Regions from separate parts of the Homo sapiens genome. Here region 1 is linked to region 2. The links are contacts of gene promoters, found by promoter capture Hi-C in blood cells and fetal thymus (Javierre and others, 2016). All regions are on one chromosome and are shown on one strand. Each heading gives the region's core, a stretch centred on a gene start or on the middle of the fragment in contact. The rest is flanking DNA. Distances are from core to core; before and after follow the strand shown. Region 1 has its middle 24 kb from the start of RAB33A. Region 2 holds the start of APLN (apelin).

What was found. Contacts are between HindIII fragments. The CHiCAGO score rates a contact against its expected background, and 5 or more counts as called.
Region 1: a contact is called between a fragment that was not itself captured here and the fragment with the promoter of APLN in region 2, in 4 of 17 cell types (neutrophils, activated CD4 T cells, total B cells and 1 more). The highest score is 8.4, in neutrophils.

Annotation. Positions count from the first base shown.
Region 1 is chrX:130,193,463-130,199,224 of GRCh38, reverse strand. No RefSeq gene overlaps it. Among named protein-coding and RNA genes, the nearest start is that of RAB33A, 24 kb to the right of the region's middle. The HindIII fragment of the contact is 2,551 bases long and covers 1,046-3,596 here.
Region 2 is chrX:129,652,938-129,659,610 of GRCh38, reverse strand. It overlaps APLN (apelin), which reads left to right and starts at 4,655. Exons shown (of 3, transcript NM_017413.5): 1 at 4,655-5,047. The coding sequence starts at 4,981. RefSeq lists enhancers at 3,472-3,531, 3,542-3,631, 5,324-5,383 and silencers at 4,814-4,893, 4,984-5,033. The HindIII fragment of the contact is 20,761 bases long and covers 1-6,673 here.

The sequences.
Region 1 (5,762 bases), core at 1,072-3,571, 540 kb before region 2:
TCACTTTACATGATTTCAAACTCGAGAAGTTTCAGACTTAATCGTATCTAGCTTCTCTGTAACTCATGCTTGGCTTATTAATCTACCTACTTTTCTTGGAACTATTACTATTTTCAGCCTATTATCCATTAACGAGTTTCTTACTCTGTAAAGTCTTACTTCCTGTTTAAACAGCTTCAAGAGAGTGTCTTAATACTAGGATTACAAGGTCCAAGATTCAATACCTGACTCTGCAGTAAACCCTCTCTGCACCCTTACAGGTGCAGTGCAGTGGAGTGGTTAGAGCCCAGGCTCTGCAGCAGACTGCCTAGGTTGGAATTCCTCCCCTACCAGTGATTAGATTTGTGTGTGTGACTTTAGGCTCTGTGTCTCATTTTCCTTATTTGTAAATTGCATGTAACAGCATCTACTCAGAATTGAGGGAATTAATTGAGTTAATACAGTATATGTATATCCCACTTAGAACAGTGATTGGCACACAGGAATGCAATCCAACATTGTTACGATTATTGCTACATTGTGACTACCTTTCCTGATTTTATTTGTCTTAATTTTATTCAGATAGAAATAGTTCGAATCTTCACCCAGTTTTTCATTCCAGCCTCCTCACACCACCTTCACAATCAATGACTATTAACTCTCTTTTCCTAACCCAGTGGCTTTCTTGAGGGTCACTGTTGAAGCACATAGTACTAAAGATAAGCATACCATTATATTTCTTGGTTTCTCAAGCTCACCAGACTAATATTTTTAAGGAATGTCTATCAATGCTCCTGGGTTCACTTTAGTCGTAATTGTCATTTATAAATATTAGGTTAGTGCCAAAGTAATCACGGTTTTTCCCATTACTTTCAATGGCAAAAACCGCAATTACTTTTGCACCAATCTAATAGTATTAAGATATTTCCCCTATATTATGCTACCTTATACTTGGCCACACCATAGTTCACCTCATGCTCATACTCATATACCTCTCTTCTCTGATTTTGAAACCCTTCTGCAGTTTGATTCTTGTCAGTTTGGTATTTGACCACCTGAAAAAGCTTAATATCATCAACAAACTTGGAGAGGCTGCTGTGCATGACTTCTACTGTTTCTAATCCTCCACACTGAAAAATATCTGTTTGTCCATACCACTGTGATATTCGGTGGCTGGGGGGGCTGCTGAAGAGAGTGTAGCCTCGAAATAACAGTCCTAGGTTTCAATCCTGGTTTTGTATCTGAACAGCTGTGTAGCCTTGAGTAAATTACCTGAACTTGTTCAGTCTCAGCTTCCTCATCAGTGAGAGGCATGTAATGGTGATATTCTTGCAAAGTTGTAAGGAATATATATACACAAACGCTCCTCAACTTACAATGGGGTTGCATTATGACATACCCATCCTAAATTGAAAATATCATAACTTGAAAATGCATTTAACACACCTAACTTACCTAACATCGTAGCTTAGCCTAGCCTACCTCGAATGTGCTCAGAACACTTACATTAGCCTACAGTTGGGCAAACTCTACTGGCAACACAGTACAATGTGTTTTTGGTTGTTTACCCCTTGTGATCTCATGGCTGCCTGAGAGCTGTGGCTCGCTGCCACTGCCCAGCATCACGAGAGAATCTCCTAATGCATATTGCTAGCCCAGAAAAAAAAATTGAAGTACAGTTTCTACTGAAGGTGTGTGTATCCCTTTCACAGCATTGTAGAGTCAAAAAATCATAAGTTGGCTGGACGTGGTGGCTCATGCCTATAATCCCAGCACTTTGGGAGGCAGAGGCAGGCAAATCATCTGAGCCCAGGAGTTCAAGACCAGCCTGACCAACATGGGGAAATCCCGTCTGTACTAAAAATACAAAAATTAGTCGGGTGTGGTGGTGCACGCCTGTAGTCCCAGCTACTCTGGAGGCTGAGGTGGGAGGATCACCTGAGCCCAGGAGGCGGAGGTTGCAGTAAGCCAAGATGGTGCCCCTGCACTCCAGCCTGGGCGAGGGAGAAAGACTCTGTCTCAACAACAACAACAAAAGTCATAAGTCTGGCCGGGCACGGTGGCTCATGCCTGTAATCTCAGCACTTTGGGAGGCCAAGGCGGGAGGATCACAAGGTCAGGAGTTCAAGACCAGCCTGGCCAACATGGTGAAACCCTGTCTCTACTAAAAAAAAAAAATACAAAAATTAGCTGGGCATGGTGGCGTGTGCCTGTAATCCCAGCTTCTTGTGAGGCTGAGGCTGGAGAATTGCTTGAACCTGGGAGGCGGAGGTTACAGTGAGCCGAGGTGGCGCCACTGCACTCCAGCCTGGGCAACAGAGCACGACTCCATCTCAAAAAAAAAAAAAAAAAAAAAACTCATAAGTCAAACCATTGTAACTCGAGGACCATCTGTATATTATATATGTATAACGTTTGGCTCTGGCGTGACAGAGTAGACAATGAATAAACAATGCTGATGTTACTGCTACTCCTGCTGCTGCTTCAGCTGTTATTGCTGTTAATTCTGTTACTGCTGTTACTATCACTACTGCTGAGACCCTGGAAACAACACATCAGTGGAATCTTCTCTGACAGTTTTAGTGGCAATCCATCAACATTGTGGTTATTCATAACTTTGGCTTATAATTCCCAGGTCTTGAAGTACATTCCTTCAAACTGTCGGGTGGATGACATCTTATCACAGTGCTTCAATTACATGTGGCATAATTCTCTAATGTCGGAAATGAGCGTAGCTCTGGCTTTTTCTGTCTAAGGACTACGAAATGACACTGCCTTATTGAAAACTACTACGGAATCCTGTCTGCTCTGGAGGGAAGCATTCCTTTTGTGCTAAAGAACCCCTTCTTTAAAAGAAACTTCTTTATTCATTATTACCAGTAATTCACTTCCAGAAATAAAGGAATCTTGAATCAATGAAATCTTGGGTACTTATTCAATACAATTAATTATATGAAAACGTAATTTTTTTTTCTTTTTTTTTTTTTTTTTTGAGACAGGGTGTTGCTCTGTCACCCAGGCTGGAGTGCAGTGGCACGATCTCGGCTCACTGCAACCTCTGCCTCCCGGGTTCATGCGAGTCTCCTGCCGCAACCTCCTGAGTAGCTGGGATTACAGGCACCCGCCATCACGCCCAGCTAATTTTTTTTGTATTTTTAGTGGAGACGGGGTTTCCCCATGTTGGTCAGGCTGGTCTCGAACTCCTGACCTCAGGTGATCCACCCGCCTCAGCTTCCCAAAGTGCTAGGATTACAGGCGTGAGCCACCGTTCCTGGCCAAAAACATGTAATTTTAAATAGCAGTAGTAAAGTGTTCTTTCCTTTTGTAGGACTTTTAAAATGATTGAGAAATACCTTACTTTCTCAGAGAGTAGGGATATTTTCACTCAATCTTGAAATCGTCCTTTTCTGTTTTCCCCTTATCTCCATTTTTCCCCCTCGTCTATCTTCTCCAGTATGTTCTCCTAACTAGATTATCATAACATAGAATCGAAGGAAAGTGTTAAGTTGTGTAAGTGTTTTTCTTGATAAAATAACAGAAGAGGGTATTTCTATCTAGCAAATCTTCAGTGCCTCAGAACATAAGAATCCTTGATAAATTAGTAGATACCCCAAGCTTGGAAAACTCAGCTACTTAACAAGTTGTCTTATTGATTGAGTCAAATCCTTAAAGGCCACAATTTGAAGTAATTTCAAACAGTTGATTTAGTTCTCTTGGTAACTTCCAAGTGGCTTTGCGGTCAAGTTACCTCAGTTTTGAATAATTTAAAAGAAGGACATATTCAGCACAGCTTCATTTTTAAAACTGAATGATTGGGCGCTACATGAATGATCTTCCATTTTCATTCTTTACAAGTGTCCTTTATGTCAGGGGAATTGGATAAGGAATAATACACAAATGTTTATGCATAAAATACATTTTATATTTTATCTAAATTCAAGGAAATACCATAAAGGTGATTTTCGATTCCATTATGCAAATGCAGAAACTGAGGTAACATCATTCTGAAAATAAATGGTTATCAGGAAGTACTGGCTTGTTCATACTATAGAGCACCATTTTTCCTGCTCTGGTTTTAATCCCTCTTCCCTTCTTTCTTTACTGAAAGGTCTATACTATTCGAAGCTGACTTCTGATCTGTTGACAAGTAAACAATCCTTATCTAGAGACCTAAAACTTCGTTCTCTTCATAGCTGTCTTAACATGCATATGGCCATAGAAACCAGTGCACAATCACTATTTTTGTTGTTCAGAGGAATGGAGAACTGAAAAGGACCTTGGAGGTCATTTCTTCCCATCCTTCAAATGGTGCAGGAAGCTCCTCTAAAATACCTCTTTTTTAAAAGTTTCAGTTGTTCAAGCTGGCCCATCCGTTCCTAGACTTTCCATCCCCCTGCCTTGCCCTCCCCTCCTGGGAGGATGATTTGTTCCTCAGGAGCCTGCTCAACCCTTACCCCCACGTTCTGGGCCCAAGCCTGACCTAAGAATGAATTCAGCTAAGAATGAAGGGAATGAAGTTGTCGATCTCCGGATAAGGATTGTTTACTTGTCGACAGATCAAAAGTCAGCTTTGAATAGTACAGACCTTCCATTAAAGAAAATGCTCTGATTTGATTAAAACCAGGGCAAGGAAAATGGTGCTCTATAATGTGAACAGGTCAGTACTTCCTGATAACCATTTATTTTCTGAATGACAAATTACCTCAGTTTCCACCTCTGCAAAATGGAATTGAAAATCATTTTTACAGGATTTTCTTGAATTTCAATAAAATAATATCTGGCATCTAACATCAACTCCCATCTAATCTACTAGTTAATCCTAAATGAAGCAGAGATGGGACCATTAACTTCAGGCCCAGGAGCACATCCTCCTCTCAGGGTTGAGAGAAATAGAGAAAGATAAGGGAAATTAACATTGTGGTTCAGACCATTCAGTTCTAGTCTGCTCCAACACTTGCAGTCATGTGGCCTTCGGCAGGAAGCTTTGATCATTCTGTACCTCAGAGGGTAATTGTGATGTGAGGATTAAGCATGACGGTCCACATTAAGCATATAACATTGTACTTAGTAGTACACAGCACTCGATAAATGTTAGCTGCTATTAATAATTGTCATTATTTCGGTTGGAAGCATCGAGACTGAAAACTAGATGTGGTCTGATATCATCCTTCTCATTTGGTGATCTCCCTAAATAGACAGGGAGAACAACAATGCCTGGGGTACCTCTCCTTTATCTGAGGTGCCAGGGTTTCTACCTGGAATTGGTGAGTAGGGGTTAGGTCAGCCTGTTTTGTTTTGTTTTGTTTTGTTTTGTTTTGTTTTGTTTTGAAACGGAGTCTCACTCTGTCGCCCAGGCTGGAGTGCAATGGCGCTATCTTGGCTCATTGCAACCTCTGCCTCCCAGGTTCAAGCGATTCTCCTGCCTCAGCCTCCCAAGTAGCTGGGATTACAGGCAAGGGCCACGAGGCCCAGCTAATTTTTTGTATTTTTAGTAGAGATGGGGTTTCACCATGTTGGCCAGGCTGGTCTCAAACTCCCAATCTCAGGTGACCCACCCGCCTCAGCCTCCCAAAGTGCTGGATTACAGGTGTGAGCCACCGTGCCTGGCCCAGGTTTTTTATTTATGCTTGTACCTGAAACTTTCTCCAGTACTTTAAGATTAAATTCAGAGGGTCACAGTACCTACTTTATCGATGGGGAAGGGATTAAGTACCACCTATAGATTCAAATCAGGTTATGAGGTCCATTTCTCATTCTAGTTCAACTACATCATGGCTTAGGGG
Region 2 (6,673 bases), core at 3,406-5,905:
TTAAACATATGAATTTTGGAGGGACACATACATTCAAACCTTAGCACTTAAAAAATTAGGTACCATTATTATCCTCATTTAACAGAGGAAAAAACTGAGCCTCAGAGAAGCTGAATAACTTGCCCAAGGTCACACAGCTAACGAATGGGGTTGAGGGGCAGGATTTGAATTCAGTTATGTGAAACTCCAAAAGCTGAGTTCTTTTTAATGCCTCACACTGTTCACTTTAACCCACAAGAGACGTGGATGAGTCAACTGAACAGCAGTGGCTGGTGGTGACATAGGACAATAAGCAGAACTGAATAGCATGTGGATAGCTCTGATGAGGGGGGCAAGTCACACTTTGAACTCACATAGGTCAGCTATCTCACTTCTGTCCCCAACAATGCACTGAGTCCTACCCTTGCCCCCAGGATTGTCCCTCACCTTGACTGGAAACTGAGTCTTGCTGCTGACCACAGGTCCTGAGCCCCAAATGCAGCAACATTTCCAGAAATTTTACAGCTACTTGCTGCCTCAGGGCAGGAGAGTGTGGACAGTTTCATGTACCTCCTTCCCATCTCCAGAGAAATACCTTGAAACAGTGGTCCCCACATTTTTGGCATCAGGGATTGGTTTCATGAAAGACAACTTTTCCATGGACTAGGGTTAGGAGGGATGGTTTCAGGATGACTCAAGTGCATTATATTTATTGTGCACTTTATTTCTATTTTTTTTTTGTAATATATAATGAAATAATGCTACAACTCACCACAATGTAGAATCAGTGGGAGCCCTGAGTTTGTTTTCCTACAACTAGATGGTCCCATCTGGGGGTGATGAGAGACAGTGACAGATCATCAGGCATTAGATTCTCATAAAGAACATGCAACCTAGATCCCTCACACATGCAGTTTACAATAGGGTTCGTGCTCCTATGACAATGTAACGCCACTGCTGATCTGACAGAAGGTGGAGCTCAGGTGGTAATGGGAGCAATGGAGAGCGGCTGTAAATACAGATGATGCTTCGCTGGCCCATCTGCTGCTCACCTCCTGCTGTGAGGCCTGGTTCCTAATAGAACAGGGAGCCATAGTGGTCCATGGCCCAGGGATTGGAGACTTATGCCTTAAAACATTTATCCTGCTGATATTCATTCAATAGTATCCTGAACAAAAGACAGCACAGTGTTGGGCCGACAGTTGCTCACCTGACAGGCAGTTATGAAGTATCAATTATGTGCCAGGCATTGTGCTAGGTGCTATCACAGCAGTGACCTTAAAGTCTGGCAAATAGATACAGATATTCGAAAACTGGTCATTTCAATCTGATATTAAGATATCTGGGAGCCTACAAGGGGTTCAGAGTGGGCAATCAGAGCTGCGTTCCTTGCCTCATGGGCCTTGACCCCTGAATGGATATGGTGGTGATGGGTCCTCTCTGCAGAATTACAGCAGGCCCGTAGAGCACAGTGTGCAGATGCAAAAGTGTTCCTGATGCACTGTGAGAGGACCTACCAATGACAGGTACAGCCATAGCTGTTATGGAGAGGGCAAAGTCACTGTGGGCAAGGGTGTCCTGAGAAAGAAAGATGAAATCTTGGATCTGGGACTACGAAAACAGATGTGGCCAGGCATGGTGACTCACACTTGTAATCCCAGCACTTTGGGAGGCCGAGATGGGAGGATTGCTTGAGACCAGGAGTTTAAGACCAGCCTGAGAAACATAGTAAGACTCAGTCTCTACAAAAAATATAAATAAATTTAAAAATTAGCCTGGTATGGTGGTGCATGTCTGTAGTCCCAGCTACTTGGGAGGCTGAGGTGGGAGGATCACTTGAGCCTAGAAGTTTGAGCCTGCATTGGGCTGTGATTGCACTACTGCACTTCAGCCTAGGGTAACAGAGCAAGACCCTGCCTCTAAAAAAAAATGGATGTAATTTGGTTAAATGAAGAGAAGGATTCAATTAAAAAATGATTCTCCCAAGTGTCAGATCTTTAAATCTTACTCTAAACGCATGCCTTCAGCTTGGCTTGAATTTCTATTGGTTTGCTTTTATGCTTTTTTTCCCCTCACCTTGTACATTTTGAAGGCTAGGTAGGGTGGGAAAATGGATTATAGAAAAAAGAAGAATGAATGAATGCTCTAACCAATAGAACTTTCTGCAGTGATTGAAGATTCTATTCTGTGCTGTCCAATACAGTAGCCACTAGCCACATATAGGCAATTGAAGCGTGGCCAGTGGAACTGAGGAACTGAATTTTAAACTTCATTGGAAATATGATTAGTGGCTATTGTATTAGAAAGCGCTATGTGTTCCAACCACTTAGCAATATGCCATACACACCCTAGTAAAGGTGCAATTAAATATGAAGGCTTCTATTAACCTAGTTATGGGGGACACTTATTTGGGTGTGCATGGGCTTGCCCAATCAAGGATTGGAGCACCAAGTTTCCTAAAAACAACCCTGCAAGAGCTTATTCTTAATTTGCACGGTACCTTCAGGCACATTATCTCACTTAATCCCATAACAACTTTGAAGTGGGTAGAGCAGAGATTATCACCTCCATGAACCCCAGTAAGTTTAGGTGATGATGGCAAGGCCCTACAGCAAATGAGGGTGGAGACTAGAAGCCAGGTGTTTCTCCTCCTGGTTAGAAAATGCTTTCCATCCAGGCGTGGTGGCTAACGCCTGTAATCCCAACACTTTGGGAGGCCGAGGCGGGTGGATCATCTGAGGTCAGGAGTTCGAGACCAGCCTGACCAACCTGGTGAAACCCCGTCTCTACTAAAAATACAAAATTAGTCGGGCATGGTGGCGCATGCCTGTAATCCCAGCTACTCAGGAGGCTGAGGCAGGAGAATCGCTTGAACCTGGGAGGCGGAGGTTGCAGTGAGCTGAGATAGGGTATTGCACTCCAGCTTGAGCGACAGAGCAAAACTCGGTCTCAAAAAAAAAAAAAAAAAAAAGAAGAAAGAAAGAAAAAAGAAAAAAAGAAAAAGAAAAGAGAAAGAAAGCAAACTCTTTCCAGGGGAACAGTGAAGGGAGAATGGTCTCCTGCTACCCATGTCTGCTACTCATATCCTGGGTCTCAAGGATGAAGAGGGGTGCCATGCTTCACATGCTTTTTTTTTTTACTTGAGTGTGGTTAATGGGCCATAGGCTATTAATGAGAACCTTATCTTATTCCCTTCCTGCTACCTGAATTTAGGCAGTAAAGATGTTTTTGAAAATTTCATTTATATATTCAAAATTATGTATTGAGTACCAGTCATGTCGCAGGTACTGTTCTAGGTCTGGGGACACAGCTGTGAACAAAGCAAAGATCCCTCCCTTGTGGAGGTAACCCTTCTGGTGGAGAGAGACTGATAATAAATACATTGTGTATATATAGGATTTTTGCAACATTTCAAAGATATTTTAAATATGCCATGGTCTCTCATGTCTTTTATGGCACACACGCACCCTGTCCAATGTATCTTTTGTGTAAATCTGGACTTAACACTTCAAGCAAACTGCCTGGCTTGCTGAAAGGTGGAGACACCTTTCGATTCAGTCTTTTAATATGTGTTGAGTGCCACCTATGTGCAGAGCAAGATATTGGGGACTTTGGAGAGATCCAGAAGAGTGAGAAGACAGTATCCTACCTTAGGGGGTTCCCAGTCCAATGAGGGAAGCAGCCCCATGCCTTGGGAGCTCCCAAGCTATAGAAGCAGCTAACAATCGAGTCTGGAAAGGCAAACAACTTCAGGACCCGCTTCTAAAGCGGAATCGCAAGTACACGCAAAATGAATCCAGCCTTGACTGTGTGGAGTTGGGTAAACCACCTGCCTCTTACGTTGATGGGGAACTAGAATGAGGACAGCTCCAGGGAACAAGAAAGGGTAGACCATAGGAGCTGTCCCATGTCCCAACAGTGGGGAGGAGCTGATGGGCGGCCCCTGCTGGATTAGTGTTATCCTGAGAAGGCTTCTGGATGCGATGGGATTTGAGGTGCTGCTGCAAAGAATGAATTGCTCACGGAAGGGTGGGGTGGGGGCATTCCAGGTAGAGGGTGCCTCCTGGGGGATGCAGGGAACATGAGGGGCCTGGGCAATTAATCAAGCCTTGGGCACAAGCCTAGGCAGTCACCCCCAATTCAAAGCCAGTTGAAAATGCAGAGGAGAGAGGAGGGCCAGTGTTTGGTTGTCTTGACCAAACCCTTGAAGCTGGCCAGCGGCAAGGGCAAGGACCAGGGTCAGAGGTAGAGGGCGTGAGTGAAGGCAACCCAGACTGAGTCCTTCCCTAAGCGCCCAGGTTTCCTGACAGCTGTTAAGGAAGCAAGGTGAGAAAGGGTTAAGTGTGCCCCTCCACCGCCCCAAATGCTTCCTGTGTTTGAAATCCTTCAGGTCTCTGCAAACCCTCTGGCCCCCGGCCAGGCGGGCATTGTCCGGGGAGCGGTTGTAGGTTGTCAGAGAGGCCGCGCAGCCTTTGTTGTGGGGCCACCTCGGGGTTCCCTCTCGCGCTCACGCTCGGGCTGGGGCTGCAGAGTGCGTGCCTGGAGGGGGGCGGTGCGGGAGGCTCGCTCCCTCTCCCTCTTCCTGCCCCCCCTCTAGCCCTCCCGATGACCACATGACCAAGTGGGCTCGCGGCCAAGCCACAAGCTACAAAATGCAGCCCCTGGAGTGAGCGGGGAGCATTCTCTCTGGCAGCCGGGGTCACGGGCAGTTGCAGCCGCGGCCGAGCAGCCAGCCGCTAAGAAAGAGCTCGCCGCTGCCGCTCCCGGAGCCGCCGAGGCCAGCTTCGCGGCGCTGCCCCGCGGCGGGAGAGGAGGCTGCAGAAGAGCGGAGGCGGCCAGCGGGAGCGGCGGGGCTCAGCGCGCACACTCAGCGGCCGGGGAGCCTCCCGAGCTCTGCGCCCGCACGCGCCAGCCGCGGCTCGCGCCTTTCTTGGCCTCCGGGCGCCCGACCTCTCCTCCCCCGCGCCGGCTCGCCGGGGCCGCGGCGGCCCAAGGAGCAGCATGAATCTGCGGCTCTGCGTGCAGGCGCTCCTGCTGCTCTGGCTCTCCTTGACCGCGGTGTGTGGAGGTGAGTGCGCGCCCTCCCGCTCGCCCGGGCTGCAGCCGGCGTGCTCCTTTCCCTCCGCCCTATTCGCACTCTCCCCGCCTCCCGGGGAGCCCGGCGCGAGCCGTGCAGTAGCAGCCACGCGCCGGCCAGCGCCAGGCAGCAGATTGACAGAGCGCCCCGAGCCATGGGGCGGCTGGCCACAAGGACTGCTTCTTTTGCGGGGCTCAACTCGGCCTTTGGCATCACCTGCCCGTCACCTTGTCCCTCCTAACCGTCGCTCGCAGTCCCAGGAGCTCAGGACCACAGGTGTGCGCCGCGTGTCCCACGCCCTGCACCCCGCGTGGTAGAGGTGGAGGCGGGGGACATGCCCGCTCCCTCGTGGATCGATGGAAGGAACTGACCAGAGTCGAGTGGGCTGGGCTCCCATGTTGAACGTCTTCTGGTCCCTGAAGGCTGGGAGCCTCCCGCCAGTCCAGGGGCGCGGGAAACCGGGGATGATGTGCCAACATGCAGACGTGACACTTGTTGCATAGGCAGGAGTGCGCGGAGGGGGTGGCGGCATGGAGCCCAGCTGTTGCTCCTTTCGGCCTGCATGTGTGAGCAGAGGCAGCCTCCCCCAGGCAGGGCCGGGCCCAGCCGGGCTGGGCTGGTCTTCTCCTCCCTAACCCCAAGGTCCTGGCTGGTCTCCTCCCCTGCACAGGATGCCCTCCCCATAGCCTCCATCCCACCCCCAGAGACTTGGTTCTCTTACATCCTGGCTCCAGCCTTCCTTTCTGTCCCAGGCACGGACATGCTTCACTTTAGTCTCCCTGCCGCTAGGCACCAAAGGAGGAAGCACAGCACCTGACCCGACCCCTCCCTGCAGCTCAGGAAAGGGGAGTCCTTTTGCCCTCACCTGCCAATACTTGGCACTAGTGCCCATGTCCGCCCCTAGCCTGGTCCCCAACCACGCCCCAGCAGCCCCATCCCAGGCTGCCTGTCCTCTGTGTCAATGTCTCCTGGGGCTGCCAGCTCCCACCTCCAGCTGCCACAGTCCTATGATCTGGCTGTCATTGCTGCCTGCCTGGCACCACACAAGGGGAAGGCCAAGACCAGGTGGACTAACGCCAGGACCATGGCTGGAGTCACAGGGAGGTGGGAGCAGAAAGAAGGAGAAGGCAGGGCAGTGAGTTTCCTGGGGCAAGGGCACAGGGCCCTAAGTGGTTCCAAACCCTCCAGAACAGGAGGATGGCATGCAGCCCAGGAGCCTCCGAGGGGCCCAGCCAGCTCTGCCTGCCTCTCATCGCAGGCCACCTCCTTTCTCTGCTCTTGCTTTTTGGCCCTGCTGTGGCTCTGGGAACACTGCCTGGCTTCTCAGAAAGGTGCAGTGGTTGGGGCTGGCACCTCCTGCCTCCAGGTAGCTGGCCGGTGATTTCTCTATTCAAGACCTGAACACGAAGTGAGCCACCACCACAGTAAGAAGTGGGTAGGCTTTTTCCACAGAAACTCCTGTCAGGCAGGTAACAGAGGGAGCAAAAGATACGAATGTAAGATACGAATGATACACCATACCAGCCTATCCTCAGGGAGCCTACCATCTGGTGTCATTGGCAAGGCATGACACTTGCACAATACCACCACAGGCAAATAGTCCAGGGTGGTGCCTTC